Linked DNA regions of Homo sapiens: regions 2, 3, 4, 5 and 6 are each linked to region 1. Evidence: promoter capture Hi-C in 16 types of primary human blood cells and fetal thymus (Javierre and others, 2016). All regions are on one chromosome and are shown on one strand. Each heading gives the region's core, a stretch centred on a gene start or on the middle of the fragment in contact. The rest is flanking DNA. Distances are from core to core; before and after follow the strand shown. Region 1 holds the start of DSCC1 (DNA replication and sister chromatid cohesion 1). Region 2 has its middle 68 kb from the start of MRPL13. Region 3 has its middle 8.5 kb from the start of SNTB1. Region 4 overlaps MRPL13 (mitochondrial ribosomal protein L13). Region 5 overlaps MTBP (MDM2 binding protein). Region 6 overlaps MTBP (MDM2 binding protein).

What was found. The method cuts DNA at HindIII sites, captures the fragments that hold promoters and counts their contacts. A CHiCAGO score of 5 or more calls a contact.
Region 2: a contact is called between a fragment that was not itself captured here and the fragment with the promoter of DSCC1 in region 1, in 1 of 17 cell types (erythroblasts). The highest score is 5.5, in erythroblasts.
Region 3: a fragment that was not itself captured here is called in contact with the fragment with the promoter of DSCC1 in region 1 in 1 of 17 cell types (total B cells); the score reaches 5.8 in total B cells.
Region 4: a fragment that was not itself captured here is called in contact with the fragment with the promoter of DSCC1 in region 1 in 12 of 17 cell types (erythroblasts, naive B cells, total B cells and 9 more); the score reaches 16.6 in erythroblasts.
Region 5: a fragment that was not itself captured here is called in contact with the fragment with the promoter of DSCC1 in region 1 in 1 of 17 cell types (total CD4 T cells); the score reaches 5.1 in total CD4 T cells.
Region 6: a fragment that was not itself captured here is called in contact with the fragment with the promoter of DSCC1 in region 1 in 9 of 17 cell types (total B cells, naive B cells, non-activated CD4 T cells and 6 more); the score reaches 10.5 in total B cells.

The regions. Positions count from the first base shown.
Region 1 is chr8:119,854,573-119,857,272 of GRCh38, reverse strand. DSCC1 (DNA replication and sister chromatid cohesion 1) reads left to right here and starts at 1,379. Exons shown (of 9, transcript NM_024094.3): 1 at 1,379-1,659. The coding sequence starts at 1,478. LOC105375728 (a long non-coding RNA gene) reads right to left here. Exons shown (of 4, transcript XR_928590.3): 2 at 2,471-2,598; 3 at 1,394-1,867. RefSeq lists a silencer at 1,228-1,287 and an enhancer at 1,398-1,707. The HindIII fragment of the contact is 2,867 bases long and covers 870-2,700 here.
Region 2 is chr8:120,375,624-120,378,323 of GRCh38, reverse strand. No RefSeq gene overlaps it. Among named protein-coding and RNA genes, the nearest start is that of MRPL13, 68 kb to the left of the region's middle. The HindIII fragment of the contact is 1,409 bases long and covers 650-2,058 here.
Region 3 is chr8:120,819,203-120,821,902 of GRCh38, reverse strand. No RefSeq gene overlaps it. Among named protein-coding and RNA genes, the nearest start is that of SNTB1, 8.5 kb to the right of the region's middle. The HindIII fragment of the contact is 1,657 bases long and covers 479-2,135 here.
Region 4 is chr8:120,406,390-120,409,089 of GRCh38, reverse strand. All of the region lies in intron 6 of MRPL13 (mitochondrial ribosomal protein L13), which reads left to right. Among named protein-coding and RNA genes, the nearest start is that of MRPL13, 37 kb to the left of the region's middle. The HindIII fragment of the contact is 2,167 bases long and covers 243-2,409 here.
Region 5 is chr8:120,464,698-120,467,397 of GRCh38, reverse strand. All of the region lies in intron 10 of MTBP (MDM2 binding protein), which reads right to left. Among named protein-coding and RNA genes, the nearest start is that of MTBP, 21 kb to the right of the region's middle. The HindIII fragment of the contact is 2,238 bases long and covers 263-2,500 here.
Region 6 is chr8:120,447,564-120,450,263 of GRCh38, reverse strand. The region is part of intron 2 of MTBP (MDM2 binding protein); the gene reads right to left. Among named protein-coding and RNA genes, the nearest start is that of MTBP, 3.5 kb to the right of the region's middle. The HindIII fragment of the contact is 335 bases long and covers 1,271-1,605 here.

The sequences.
Region 1 (2,700 bases), core at 130-2,629:
AGGTCACAAAGTTCTGAAGAGAGTTGGGATTCGCAGCCATGCCTGTCTGATGTAAATGTCAGGGTTCTAGTTGACACTGCTTCTAGTTGTAGGGAATGTTTCCCATTTAATAGAGCAACTACAATGGTTGATTCCCTTCAATAATAACTTCTTATCAGGCAACCACTGTCACATTCAGGATTTCATTCCACCGAATTCCTATGCATTCAAATGTAAAAGAGGCTAGTGAAGAAGTAGGTCACATGAACCAATCTTTCCACCACCAACGAAAGCACTGCCCAGACTCCTGGGATGCCCTACTCTGGTATTTTCGTATCATTTTACCCAAGAATTGAAAAAAATGTCTGCTCAGATCCTTTGAATTCAACACCTTACCCACCACTTTCTTTCACTTCAAGCAAGGTCTGATTTGCACTAACTAGTAGGAGGTCACCATCTCTTAAGTGATTCCTCCCAGACTATTTTAGCTCTCAGGGACAGCCAGGGCCCTCAACGATTCCCTAAGCATCTCTGGGAAAGTTTACACATTACGCTGTTACAAGCAATTCATGTATGTGTGCATAGTGAAAACCTTTTCTCTTAAAACTCTTAATACTGAAGTTCCCCAAACCTTTGGAAAATGTACAAGTCACAGATGCTCCTGTGACTTGTTTTTCCCTTCGGGTGCGTCCTCAACCTTGCTTAAATAAACCTCTATTGAACGAGACCTGCATCAGTCACTTTTCGGTTAACACTAGGTATTCAACGAATAGACTAGTCCCGCCGTTGTCTCCAGATATGATGGTGCCCTGACCCAAAGAAGCGAGATACTCCTTCCCAGGGCCTCGCTCCCGAGCATGGGTTATTTGCACAAAACCCCGCAGGAAGCTTTTAGAGCCACAGTCGGCTAGGCTGGAGTCAGACTCTGTTACCTCCTGACTCTGCCATCACGAGCAAGGAGCCTGCTTCCTCATTGGCAAAAGGGAATGACCAAGGCACCACCTTACAGGGTTGTGGCAACGGGCTCATGGAATTATACATGCCAAGTGGTTATCACAGGGCCCGCCACTGGCGGAAGGTGAGACAATGTGGACGGCGAGGAAATGGGAGCATCGGCTGGAAACCAGGGACGGAGATCGGGGATGGGGGGCGGGCAAGGGGACAGCGGAAAGGGTGGGCGAGGGATCCGTGTCCCAACCCGCCGAGTCGCAGCTCTGCCCCTGCGAGCTTCCGCCGAGACCGCCCCCCGGGAAGCCGCGTTTCCTTCCTGCAGTCGCGGTCCGGCGTGGGGCACGGAGGGGCTCGCGCTCCCAGAAGCCGGCAGGCCTTCCCGCGGGCGGGCCCGCAGCGCGCTCCGCCCCGGAAACACGCCCATGGCCGCCTTGGCGCGCTTTCAAACGCTCAGGTTTCCTACCTTCCGGCTGCTTGGGAACTTCTTTCTTGCCCGCCAAGCCCGCAGCCACCCGGGCGCGGCGGGACTCCTAGACCCGGCGCTGCGATGAAGAGGACCCGCGACGAGGTGGATGCGACGCTGCAGATCGCCAAGCTGAATGCGGCCGAGCTGCTGCCGGCGGTGCACTGCCTGGGCTTCGGCCCTGGGGCCAGCGGCGCTGCAGCCGGCGACTTCTGCCTGCTGGAGCTGGAGCCCACGCTGTGCCAGCAGCTGGAGGATGGACACAGGTGAGCCCTGGTCACGCGGCGCCCCCAGCCTCTGGCCGGCCACGTTATTTTCTCAGCGGGGAAAGTCGGGATAAGAAAACAGGGCCAGAGAGATGCACTGACCTGGCCGGGGGCTCATAGCAAGCTGCCTGTTCCCGAGGAGTCCACGCCTCCGGTGGGCCGTCCAGTTAGCTGCACTGCGGTGATGAGTAGCACTGGTCCAGCTGACCTTGGAGGCATGTGTCAGCGGGAGCAAGTCAGGAAATACTAATACAACCTCCGTGAAGTTTTTGAAGAGTTACCGGTGATTACAGGGACTCTACAGGACACCTGTCACTCTACCTTAAAATACAGTGGTGATACCCAATGTTTATAGAACTCTTGCCTTCCACTTATATTTATTTTACTCAGATGATAGATAGGAAGTGCTGGGAATCAGCTTACAGACTTGGTAATTGGGTGAGACCCCTACCCACCCCGAAGCAAACTTGCTTAGTAGGGATCTGAAGCTGTTTCTAATTCCAGGTCAGATACAAACTTGCTGCAAGATCATTGATTAGAAGTCGAAGTTGAGGTAGTTTTTTAAAGGCAGTCTTGAGAAGTCTAGAGAATCGTTATATCCCTCCACCCTGTGCAGCCCCAGCTCCTGCAAAATAGGGAGCTCCAGCTTGATTCTCTTTTGCACAATTGGTCCTCCGACACCTATATTTTATTAGGCTATTTTTTCTCTTTTTTCTTAATGGAATCCTTTAGGCTGTCTTTCAGTTTTCGTACTTTGCCCACCAAAGAGTGTTAGAGTAAACTGGCCATTCTTCAGATACCTGCTATATACCTCAAAGTACCTTTAAGGGAACTGAAAGAACTTCACTAGTCTGTTTCCATCCCGGTTCAGTTGGTGGAGAGTTGAGAAAGGAACTCAGGTGTGAGGACTTTCTCTCGGTCCAGTTCTAGTTAATCTAGCTGGCAAAAACAAAACAAAACAAAAACAAAAAAATAAAAACAGGCCCTGGAAACGTGTGTTTTTAATTTTGGGGTGTAGGGAGTGATGGTATAAACAAAATA
Region 2 (2,700 bases), core at 105-2,604, 520 kb before region 1:
GAGCTGGTTAACAATTTTGTGACATAATTATTAGGGCATAACCAGGACACAGTTTTATCAGGATTCACTGAATTTAGGCCAGATGACAGGACACCCAAAAATGGATGTCTTCAATAATTATACCTTTCTTTTCTGTCTTATTCAGTTACTTTTACTTTGTTAGCATACAGAATTTTAGATTTTACAATATATATTTTTACTACTCTAGATTTCATTATAAAACTTACTTTGTTAGGTTAATATAGTTGAATTTTATGACATTATTCATGAATTTTTAAAAATCAATAAGATAAAATGAAATTAAACAAAGAAACAAACAACAAAATGTAGTTTTTATGCCAGCATATACTTTTTGTTACATAGTAAGATGCAGAGAAAAATTAAACCATGAGTAGCATTTATGCATTGATAAATGCTACTTAAACAAGAAAATCATTCCAACACTCCCAATAATGAATTTACTCTATTGCCCATTATTCTGCTTTCAAAATTATCATTGCCTACCATCTTTCTAACTGTCAATGACTCATTTTTATTCATTCATTCCAGATCATTAATAATAATGATGATACTTAAAGGGCAATAGATTATTTGTAAAGCAGAATTTTATTCTAAAATCTTTTATGATTTTCTAATAAAGTCTTAAGCTTCTGAGAGCACATACTTGTTGCAAAATATTTTTCAAACAATATAAAACTTTTAAGCATTAACATTTAAGTAAAATTTACTTAATTTTTGTTGATAATAGAGTTATTCTAAAGAGTATAGATATAACCAGGACTTTGTGGCAAAGGAGTTTTCTAAACTCTGAGCTTGTCTAGCACAAATGAACACTTTCCATTAATGTTTCTGATGCCACATCAAATTAGAGTGAAAAGTTGTGTTTTTTTTTTAAACCAAATATTTTGGTTCATACTTGGAAACCTCCATTCTGCATTTGAACAGCGCTTCTTGTTGGGGACAGGCCCAAAGGGATTAATCCTTGTCTTGCTGTCACAGCTTAATTAGACATCCAAAATCATTCCTTTCTGTTTCATCCTTCTTAAGTTCCTATCTGCTACTAATAATGTACTTACTCAGAAAAAAAAAAGACAAAAAAGAAAAACCTCAAAGCCAACATGTCATTCTCAAATCATTCTCTCTCCTCTTCTCAAATTTATCTCTCCCTTAATGGACTTACCATTCAACCAATCTCCCAAACTTGAAATCATGAAGCCGTTCGTTCTTTCCTTCCTCATGTCACTACCCTAGATCCCATCAGTCATCAAGTTCTGCCCAGAATCTTTCCTCAACAGTCCTCAAAGCTGGTGCTTCCTACTCTTTGTCCACTGCAGTGCTGTGGTCCAGGCTGTCACCATCTGAACGACTGCAGCAGGCAGCACAGTACATATGCGGGAGGTTGCGTGAAATTTGGGAACAAACCAATGGTTAGAATCCCTGCTTTGCCTCTTCTGTGCATGTATGTGACCTTGGGTGTGTTACTTACCTTCCATGTTTCAACATTTGCAAAAAAGAAAAGAAGAAAAGGTAATACCTACCTTAATTTGTAAAAATCAACTTCCTATGAAGCGCCCAGAACAGAAGCTAACATATAGGAAGTCTTCATTAAATGTCTTTTTCTTTCCTCAATCTTTTCCCACCCCAGTCTATCTTGTACATTCTATAAAAATTGTACCCCAAAATAATAACTCTAATCAGGTCACTCATCTGCTTAAAGATATCCACTGCCCCTGTTCCCTCAGATAAAAATCTCAACATCGGATAGAAGATCTTCCACAATCTGCTCCAAGCCATCTTTCCTGCTTCAACTGAGAGCAGAAAATTAGGGAGCTCCTGTGTCACTCTATTCATCTCTTCCTTTCCAGCACCCCAACACATGGCTGAACTCATGGACCCCAGATCCTAATTAAAAGTTTGATGGATGGATGCATGCATGCATGGAGAGATGGATGAATACATGAACACATGAATGAATAAATTTATCAGAAGACAAGACTTACATACTTCCCTTACATTATGGAACATTTACTAGATCTGAATTTGAAAGCTATAGAAGCTTATCATTCACTTCCAGGCGTTATTCCTGTCTCCCAAATTTTCTGCCTTATACTGATAGAAAAGTTTTCCTGCTATAAGCAGAGTATGTGATTTGGCCCAGAATATAGATGAAACTGCGCTAGGATGAAATGCTTCTTAATAGAATTCTACAAACATTTGTTGAGCAGCTGTCAAGAGTCAAGCATGCTCTGATCAGTCTGAGACCCCTTAAAGAATGCACATCGTATGGGAGAAGAGAGGTCAAAGAGTTAGCTGGTAAAGGGGGCTGCGGTGTCATAGTTGTCAAGATGGTCATGGTGGAGTTTAGTAAAGGTTTGACACAGGAAGAGGAGCCTCAGGTGTCTACAAAGTTGAGTATGAGTTTAAGCAGGTCATTTAAACTAAGGTGGGGCAGAGAAGAAGGACTTTCCATGTGGAAGATAAAGCATGTCAAAGATGTAGAAACAAGAGAGAACAGGCACAAGTTCATTATGGCTCTAGTTTGGAAAGTATTTTGTTAAGATACCTATTTAAATATACTTCCTCAAAAATAAAATATAAATGACCAAGTTGGAGAGAATTTGTTGACACAAAAATGAAAAAAAGGATAACGGAAAACAAGAAATTCCCCCAGATAAGCCCACTCATTTTCCCTACCCCCAC
Region 3 (2,700 bases), core at 58-2,557, 960 kb before region 1:
TTTGGTATTCATGTTGCTTTAGTTTTCTTTCATTTGAAGCAATTCCACCCTGCTTCTTGTCTTCCATAACTTGACATTTTTGAAGAACCCAAGCCACTTGCTTTTTTGAATATCCCATAGTCTGAATCTGCCTGTTTGCCTGTATTTAGATGGTAGATTAGATCAAGCATCTATGTGGTACTTTGTGCACTTTTACTGGGATATATAAGAACAAAACAAACTGCAAAGAAATTTTGAACTTGTTCGGTAGTTTTGTTGTTGGTATTGCTATTGAAACAATAATTCTGAAACAATTTCCTTTTATACTGTAGAACGCAGAAAACTGAATTAATCTATTGGTATTTTTGAAAACCAAATTTCTCACTTATTGGGAGATACAAATGTGAATAAGGAAAGGTAAGGAAGTACCTTATGATGTTAGGTTTGAATTGGTGATATAAGTATGAACGCCTTCTGTCTTCCTTAGTAGCAATAAGCTTACCTGGTTCCTATGTGACCTTTCTTACTTGTTCTCCAGATCTTGGTTCCTATGTGACCTTTCTTACTAAAAGGAATCAGGGATCTTTAAAGGAATGGCTGATACCAGGACTAGGCAGATAAAATATAAGTTAATCCTGCCAGAAGGCAAAAAACAAACAAACAAAAAATGCTTAAGGACAAAGGGGACCTGTCAAAAGAATATAGGAGTCAGCTTGAAGAGGCTCATAGTGGCCAAATTTTGGATATCAAAACAACAAACAGAATGATAGTAATGAATATGGCACATTAAGGAAGAATCTATGTTGAAGTGAAATGTAAAAACGACGGCAACAAAAATAGCTGTATATGGGAGAAAGCTCTTCATTACAGAAGTATGTCTGCTGATAAATGTAGAAGGAATTATTAGATATGTTACTCACATTTTTAACATGCTCCCCATGTGGTTCTGATTCCCTCCAAAGTTTGGGAACAACTTCTAGATGTTACCTTGAAGCTCTTTAATTCTATAATAGCCATAAAACTTTAAACATAGTTCCTTCCCTGCATAAATAATATTCAACATAAACATATGAAAAACAGAGATTCTAGTTAGCCAATGATAATTTGTTTTCTCCTTTAAATTACTTCTGAAAGCATTTTTCTTCACTCTTCTCTATACTGGTCAGTCTGGCTATTCCTGAAATTTGCCATTCTATTGTAGTATGTTCCTGGGAGAATTCTTTCCCCTCTCTACTTCCACTACAATTTCCTTCCTCTGTGGTGCAAAATATTTATACTCATGGAGATGGGAAAAGGAGGCAGCTGCCTTAGACTGTCTCCAAGCTCTGCCTTTTGCTTGCTTTGGTTTTCTTTGTCCCTTCACCAGGCAGATGAGAACTTTCAGACATCCAGTTGCCTTTTTGGAGTTTAGTTCAGTGGACACTGTATGTAAATGCAGTGTTTTGTGATACCTCAAAGGGCTTGAATTTTCATTTCAGAAGTGAAGTACAGCAATTGCATTTTGCCTTTAAATGTGTGTTCTTCCTCCTGGCCTCCAAGTTTTACATCTAAGTAAATGATACTGTCTTAATCTGTTTGTGCTGCTAGAACAAAATACTTCAGACTGCCTAATTTATAAACAACAGAAATGTATTTTTCACAGCTCTAGAGGCTGGGAAGTCCAAGATCAAGGCACTGGCAGGTTTGGCACCTAGTGAGGGACTGGTCTCTTCTTCCAAGATGGCACCTTGTTGCTGAATCTTCCAGAAGGGACAAATGTTGTGTCCTCACATGGCAGAAGAGATAGAAAGGCAAAAGGGGCTACCTAGTTATTTCCAGCCCTTTCATAATGTCGCCAGTTGCATTATGAGGGCTCTACTCTCATGACTTAATCAACTCCCAAAGGCCCCACCTCTTAATACTATCATATTGGGTCTTACATTCTGACATGAGTTTTGGGGGAACACATACATTCAAACCATAACAAATACCTAAATGCCCTTATCTAGGCCCTCGACTATAATGCCGTTAGGCCATGACCTGTTTCATGTTCCACTATTCCCTCAAACTTGACAAATCTAAAATGAACTCACATCATCTCCTGACAAGTTCTGTCACACTCTTTCTGACTACCTAAGTTCATGCCTAGTATATTGTAACAGTTATGAGCATAAGCTTTGGAGGAGAACAGATGTAAGTTAGACTAGGTTTGAACCCCAACTCCAATGCTTATAGGAAGTGTGAACTTGTTGAGTGCAACATTCTCATCTGTAATATGGGGATGATATTACCTACCTCAAATAATTTCTGTCTGGAATCAATGGTATATGTTAAGTACACACAGAGTCTAACACAGTGTAAAGGTTTAATAAAAACTAATTATTATTTCATTGGCTTCTTCTCCTTTTCCTAGTTCTCTATCAAATAAATCATCACGAGCTGTTCAATCTTTTTTTAAAACCATCTCTTTTATTTCCACACAAATACTGATTTTTAGCCATCCTGCCTAGGCCATTGAACAATCTCCTTAAGTAGTTTTCCTGCTTCAGTTTGCCAAAGGCTTGTATTCCTATTGTGTGCAAGGAATCATGCTAAAGCATCTCAGTCTTTCCCAACTACGTATTCCTCAATCTGTCACAAGTATCTGTTTTGATAACACCTCTCTTTTGATTAGTAGGAATGAATGGCTTCTCAGTGCTTTTAAATAAATTCTACAGTAAGGTTCCAACATATCCATAGTGA
Region 4 (2,700 bases), core at 77-2,576, 550 kb before region 1:
TATTAGAAATGTGCCTGCAAAGGAGAGATGGATGGTAAGGATGAAGACAAGGAAGTATGAGGACAACCATTACTGATGCAGAACTGTCTCTTCGAAAGTAGGATGAGGATTAGGGAGTTCAATATGTGATCCATTCAGCTCTGTAAAAGAAAAGCTGGATTCCAGATGCTGGGAACATTAGCACTGCATTGGTGAGCATCCTCTTCAGTCTATAGCTCTAGAAGAGAGCACGGATTTAAGCTTAGTGCATATTCTCTGATATGAAAGCTGTTAATCCTAAAAACTACCCATTTTCAGATTTACTTAATACTCAGAAAAAGATTATTTTTACCTATGCCTTTATAAAACATGCTTCAGATCAGAGACTTAAAGACAATGTAGAAGGATTTTTACCTTTTCTAATCCATAAGTTGCTGGGATCTGGACAGCTTTAAGATTTTCCATAATTTTCTTCTAGTCTAGTCATGTGGCATTTTCTCCACACAATTTAACTTAATTTGCTGCTCTTCACAGTCAGCAGTTACTAGCTGGACTTGTGGACTAAGGTTACTTTCCAACTTTCCTACCTATTTCAACCAGTTCAGCATTGACTTCAATGATAGACTTCAGTCTTTCCAGTCCTGGGTTTTGCTCAAATTAGGCATTCTAAGCTGTACTGTTCTTTTGGATGTGAATAGATCAGGACTGGCTAGTAAAATAAAAAAGTAGTCTCTATTTAAACAACAAAACCCAAATCATTTATAAGTCCTAGCTGATACAGATTTTGACTAAAAAAGTGCAGTTGAATGTAATGGCAATTTCTGTTCATTTTAATTGAAAAAATCATTTGGCAAAAATTTTCAACAATCTTACAGGTTTAGTTTATTTAAAAGTATGTTGATCTGTAGGTCTGGATCTGAAAGGGAAGAAACAAAAAAGAATAATCAAGAAAGGATTTAAAAAAACATTTTATTTAAATGTATGTTGAGCTTTTTCGGATCAGGATGGTGCTACAGTGCCTAGGAAAATTAGTATTAAGGCACCATTACTTTACCTCTCAGTATAGCTAGCATCTTTAAAGAATATGTGATGTCACCAGATTTCCTGAAATGGTTTATTCTAAATAATTTCATTCATTCAATGGAAGTGACTTAAAACTCAAACTGACCTTTTATCGCTTTTAAGATTAGTTCACCATCCAAATATTATTTTAGTCTTTTAAATGTTTCATAGAATAAGCATTATACTAAGAAATATTATGTAAGAGTGAAAAGACATAAAACCTATTGAAGAAAAAAATTTTTTTGAGATTTATTACACTTAAGCTACACTCAATTTCCTGGACTTACAGCTGAAATAGGGAATTTTTTTACTTGAAAAATAAATTATTCTTAGTAGGACCAATAATGTATTTTTTGTTTTGTTTTGTTTTGTTTTGTTTTGTTTTGTTTTGTTTTGTTTTAGATGGAGTTTTGCTCTTTTTGCCCAGGCTGGGGTGGTGAAATGGCGCGATCTCGGCTCACTGCAACCTCTGCCTCCCGGGTTCAAGCAATTCTCCTGCCTCATCCTCCCAAGTAGCTGGGATTACAGGAGCCCGCCACCACGCCCAGCTAATTTTTTGTATTTTTTGTAGAGACTGGGTTTCACCATGTTGGCCAGGATGGTCTCGATCTCTTGACCTCATGATCTGCCCACCTCGGCCTCCCAAAGTGCTGGGAAGTAGGACCAATAATGTTAAGTGTCACTTATCTTAATGTAGCATAAACCATGTGCTTCATAACTTGATGTTTTGTTTCATTCACAACCAAGTAAATTTTTCCTACCATTTTATAATACAAACTAAAATCTCCGAAAAGTTTTTTCCTAATGTTAAGAGGTGAGAAATTACTCCATTTTCAAGATAATATAAATGTTTTGACTTCTGTCATTTCTGAATTCTGAATTTGAATCTGCTTTTTTGATATGTGCTTATTTCATCCTAATGAGTAGCAGTATTTTGCTTGTTTCATCTAATGAGTAGCAGGCAGTGTTTTGCATAGGGATGCGTATGGTAAAGAATTTGCTATAGGAAACAGAATGATGTGGCATGTGGTGTGATTTTAACTGTTTTTGAGCAGTCACAAGCACCAGAGAATATTTTCTACAACTCAGATGAGGCTTTTTAAAGTTCTGTTTTCTCACTCAAAATGTAATACTATTTTCGAAAGTTACTTTGTATAAAGGCAGTTTTTGCTAGTGACAAGTATCTGCAAAATAGATAGTTGTTACAGAACATTTGATAGCTATGGAAAGTTTAGCACAATTTAGAGAATGAATTAAGGAAAGTTTTATGTTAGCTATTTCTTAGATGATTCATTAATCTCCCAAGTATATTTTAAGCACATAAATGAAAATTTAAAACTTTCGTCTTTCACTTCAAAGATCAAAGCTTGTGTGTGTTTCATATATTTTTATATATAAGTATACTATATATAAATTGTATATAAAATATATATCATAGCTGTATTAGATAACAATTACACACACACACACACACACACACACACACACACACATGCACACATATATAATCCACTGTTAGAAACTGCTTTATAAAGATGAGGACTGGGTCCTGCTCACTACTTTATTCCCGGCGCCCACAGCAGGACCTGACCAGTCAATTTGTTGAATAAATGAATGCATGAATGGAATCATATCCTCCCTGAAAGGGAAATTGATGTT
Region 5 (2,700 bases), core at 132-2,631, 610 kb before region 1:
AGTGATCCACCCGCCTTGGCCTCCCAAAGTGGTGGGATTACAGGCGTGAGTCACTGCACCTGGCCTGAGTTTCAAAATCTTGATTAAATCTTTTCAGTAGGTCCTCTCCAACAAGCAGTCATTGTGGAAATCATGTTTCTAGCTTGCAAATTCCTCTCTCTGAAGAAATATTTCCCAGCCAGAAGATTAGTGAACATCATAACTCCCTAACAATCCTATCTTGTCTTTTCCTAATCTAGCTTAATTATTAGTAAAATAAGCTTTACTCCAAGAAGTTTTTACTTATATTCTGGGGCTAATCATAGTTACATAGATAAATAATTTGTTTAAGCTAAGATGCTGACTGAAGATCACACAAAGCAATAGAATTTAAGCACCATGAAAGTTTCTTGAGAAAGGGCCTGTCCATCTTATTCTATCCAATATTACAAACAAGCATCTGGCAGATAGCAGCAGTAAAAACATTTTTAAAAAAATTAATTGTTTAATAAATGAAACCCAAGGTATTTATTTATTTATTTTTTGAGACGGAGTCTCGCTCTGTTGCCCAGGCTCGAGTACAGTGGCGTGATCTTGGCTCATTGCAACCTCCACCTCCTGGGTACAAGTGATTCTCCTGCCTCAGCCTCCCGCATAGCTGGGACTACAGGCAAGCGCCTCCTTGCCCGGCTAATTTTTTGTATTTTTAGTAGAGATGGGGTTTCACCATGTTGGCCAGGCTGGTCTCAAACTCTTGACCTCAGGTGATCCACCTGCCTCGGCCTCCCAAAGTGCTGGAATTAAAGGCGTGAGCCACCGCGCCCAGCTGAAACCCAAGTTATAAAGCACTAGATTTCAAAGAACTGGTATGTAATTAAACACTTTTTCAAAAATGTGAAAAATGACCAGGTGCAGTGGCTCACACCTGTAAAGCCAGCACTTTGGGAGGCCGAGGTGGGTGGGTCACTTGAGGTCAGGAGTTCAAGACCAGCCTGGCCAACATGACGAAACCCTGTCTCCACTAAATATACAAAAAAAAATTAGCCAACCATGGTGGTGTATGCTTGTAGTTCTAGGTAGTTGAGTGGCTGAGCCGGGAGAATTGCTTGAACCCGGGAGACGGAGGTTGCAGTGAGCCAAGATCACACCATTGCACTCCAGCCTGGGCAATAGAGCGAGACTCCGTCTAAAAAAAAAAAAAAAAAAAGAGTAAAAAACAAATCATAACTCAATGTTTAAGAAAAATAAATTACTTCATATTTAGATTTGTTTTCTAAGTTACATAATATATGGCTTCAAAAATAATCCCTTTTGCTGCATTGAACTGGGAACATAGTTATAAAGTCTCTATTTCTTACTAATAAAGTATGTTGTAATATTTTACAATCATGGTTTGAGAAGAAAAAATGATAATCTAATACAACAAATTTAAAACAAAACAACTGAAAATATATTATTAAACATTAATAGTTTAGGGTGCTTCTAGGATTAGTGTTGCCTATCTTCAATAACTAGATGGACTAATGCTTATGTTACACCTGTGTTAAACTATAGGTACAGATCTCATTTTGACTTGAAATAGTCTCTATAAATTAGCCAGGCATGGTGGCACATGCCTGTAATCCCAGCTACTTGGGAGGCTGAGGCAGGAGAATCACTTGAACCCGGGAGGCAGAGGTTGCGGTGAGCTGAGATCGCGCCACTGCTCTCCAGCCTGGGTGACAGAGCGAGACTCCGTCTCAAAAAAAAAAAAAAAAAAAAAAGTCTCTATAAGATTTCTACAAATTTCTCTGTAAAATTTCTATAAATTTCATCATACCTTCAAATTACTTAGAGAATATCTAATATCTAGCGCTTTATACTTTTAAGGAAACTGCTTCACATATGTGTGTCCATCATTTGGGCCACATAAACTTCAAAGACAATAAAAAATTAGTTAGCAACCATCATTTATATCATACTTGGTAGTTTATAAAATACATTTCAATTTGGTTTTTATTACAACTCTGAAATAGGTAACAGAGGGATTATTATTTCCAGTTTACAATATTAAGAGCTGTAAGCCAGTGAGTGGCATAGCTATGGCTTAAAGTCAAGTTTTCTAAAAAACATGCTCTTCTATTTAAGACTTTCTACTATACCATCTATATTCCTTTCCTCCCTTATTTGGCAATATAGATAATTAATGATAAATAACAATTTTCTCAATCCATACAAGGAAGCATCTCCAAAAAATTAGGTGACTGGACAGGGATATACAGAGAGCTACTTGGCTACCTGGATTAAAATAGAAGCAGGGTATTTTTTATTCTCAGTGCACTTAAAAAATATATACTAATTCATAAGCTGTCTCTGCAAATAGTTTGGAGAAATGTATGGCCTTATTAATCTCTATCTAAACTAGGGTCTCTTGACTTATTCCCTATCTCAGGCTGTTTATTTCTTCATAATTCTTATTATGTCTGTAGTTATTTATTTTCTGTTGGTCCCCTAAAATGTAAGTTCCACAAATACAGAAGCTTCTTCTGTACACTTCATTACTGGGTTCCCGAAATCTAGTATAGTACCTCATACACAGTAGAATATATGTTGGATAAATGATAAAAGATAAATTTTAAAATTTCAAAATTTAGTAAATTAGTTATTCTTAGAGGATGAAAGCCAGGTTAATATTGGTAAAGGCCACTTCATCAAATAAATACTTTGTCGTCCTATTCAAAG
Region 6 (2,700 bases), core at 189-2,688, 590 kb before region 1:
AACTCAACTTGTATTGCCATTAATCTTTCCTCTTTCCTCCCCTTTAACGTGTAAGAAGCACTGTCCTTCTAATTCAATGTTATCCCCCACACCTCCTCTGAGACCACTGATTCTATTATCTAGTCCACTGATCATCTTTCCTGCATTTCAGTCTGCTCCCTTCTGTCTGTTCTTTGTCATTGCCATTTAAATACACACAAGTGTTTCTCAAAGTATTTCTTTTTTAAAAAAAGGGGTCCCTTTAAATTCATCTTCACTTCACTTTCTTAGCTCTTCCTCAAAGATAAACTTCTGAAGGTACTGTCCACACCTGACTGTCTCCATTTCCTCATCAACTTTTCCACTTCCTTCCAAATGCATTTCAATCTGTTTTTTGTCTCCAATATGCCACTGAAAGAACACTCACCAAAGTCACCAATAACTGACTTGTTACTAAATCTAGCGGTTTTTAGTTCTGTTGTTATTTGACCTCTCAGCATAAGAGAAGAATCAAAGATGACACATTTTACTACTTTCTCTTTAAAACACTTGGCTTCTGTGGCACCCATCCTTCTGGCTGCTCCTTATTCTTTTTAAAAACTGGTGTTCAGTTCTTCTAAATACTGGGATTCAGTTTGAGGCTTTCTGTTCTCCCTACTATCCGTAAGCAATCCCATCCTTTCTCATGCCTTCACCTGACATCTGTACATTGGTTCTATAATTTGTATTAATTGGTGCAAAAATAATTGGGTTTTTTTGCCATTATTTTTGCACCAACCTAATATCTCCAGCCCTCTCCTACATCTTGAGTTCCCGACACAAATATCCAACTTTTATAAAACATTTTTACTTTATTTTTACATTTTATTTTAGTAAACATGTAAAACATTTTTACATTTTTACTTCTTACTTTGCATCTTACAGGCAACTATTAACAGGTTCCAAACTGAACACGTCATATTCCCTCCAAATCTGGTTCTTTCTCACTAAATGCCACCATCATGCCATTACCCACACCAGAAACCTAATGTCATCCTTGATTCTTTTCTCATCCTTTCCTTCTTCTACATCATACCAATTCAACGCTAAGGTAGGTGAATTCTACCCCCATAATTTCCTTCAGATCTATCCACTTTCCTCCACCCTGGCTGCCTCTCCCATTCCTCATTTGGTCTTCTACAGAATCCCCCAGTACAGAAATAGCTATACTTTTCTCTAATCCATCTACTATACTGCAGGGAGAATACCTCAAAAGCACAGATCTGATCATGTCTCCTCCTTAATTAAAGCTTTTAATGGCTGCTGATTACCATTAGGAAAAAATCCAAACACCCTGACACTATTTACAAAATCCTCTAAATAGCCATGCCTACCTCTCCACCCTTATCCCAATTATAATCATATTGTACTTTCCGTCCCTCAAACTTGCCATATTACTGAAATCAATAATCCTAGTATGGCAGGAAATTCAGCGCAGGCAGTTTCCATTTGCATGGTTCTGATATGCACAAATTCCAGTTACTGTAGCTTAAACAACACCAGTTCCCCAACAACCTGGTTCAAATTTCAGTTACCATGGTATATTCACTAACTATAACTGCATAGTTTAAGACTTCATTGCAAGCTTCTCAGTCTACAAAACCACTGTATACATAAAAGATGTGTGTCATGATCAGTAACCAATCATGTTACTACTTTTAAAGTACGTCATTGATTGGTCACTGTGCAAGTGCCATTCAGTTCACACACAGGTAGCAAAGGATGTAATTGTGTTGCCTTCTGGTTTCCCAGTGTAAACCCATGTGATATTTTATAAAAATGGATAAATGGATGAGGGAATTTTTTAAAAAGAGAGAGATAAAGAAACACCAAAGAAACAAAAAGTGCTAACACTGAAAGCAATCTTCAAAGCTAATGTAAATAGAGTTCTAAAAATAGCTGCTGTGACAAACACCTTTTGATCAAAAAGGTGAAGATGTCCCAGAGAAAATGAGGCTAGCAAAAACCTTAATATTAAAGGAACTCAGAGATATTTCACAACATTGAAAGTCCAGGTCGGGCACAGTGGCTCACATCTGTAATCCCGGCACTTTGGGAGGCCAAAACAGGTGGATTACTTGAGCCCAGGTGTTCAAGACCAGCCTGGGCAACATAATGAAACCCTGTCTCTACAAAAAGTTAAAAAATTAGCCAGGTGTGGTGGCTCATGCCTATAGTCCCTGCTACTCAGGAGGCTAAGGTAGGAGGATAGTGACACTTGAGCCGGGGAGGTTGAGGCTGCAGTGAAGCATGATTGAGCCACTGGACTCCAGCCTGAGCAACAAAGTGGGACCCTGTCTCAAAAAAAGAAAAAAAAAATCGAAGAATAAAACATTGGAAGTTGATACAACTGGAATATGATAATTCGCCAATAAAAGATGTTCATTCTGTATCATAAGTTACGTGATGATGTGAAGGTGGCAAGCACTGCTCAAACTACTCTTGGTAAGGTTTTTACAAAGAAATAAAACACTTTAATTCTCAATGTACCTAAGGTTTTAAAATTACAGGGTACAAAATAAATTTTATTTTTACTATTTTTTTATTTCCATAAAATTTTATAACAGTAAGAGAATTTTTAATGTTTTGACAAAAGATATTAAAGGTCATGGGACAATTCTAATTTTTCTCATTGATTATATTAGGATTGCTTTGCACAATCAATTATAAAGAACAACACTA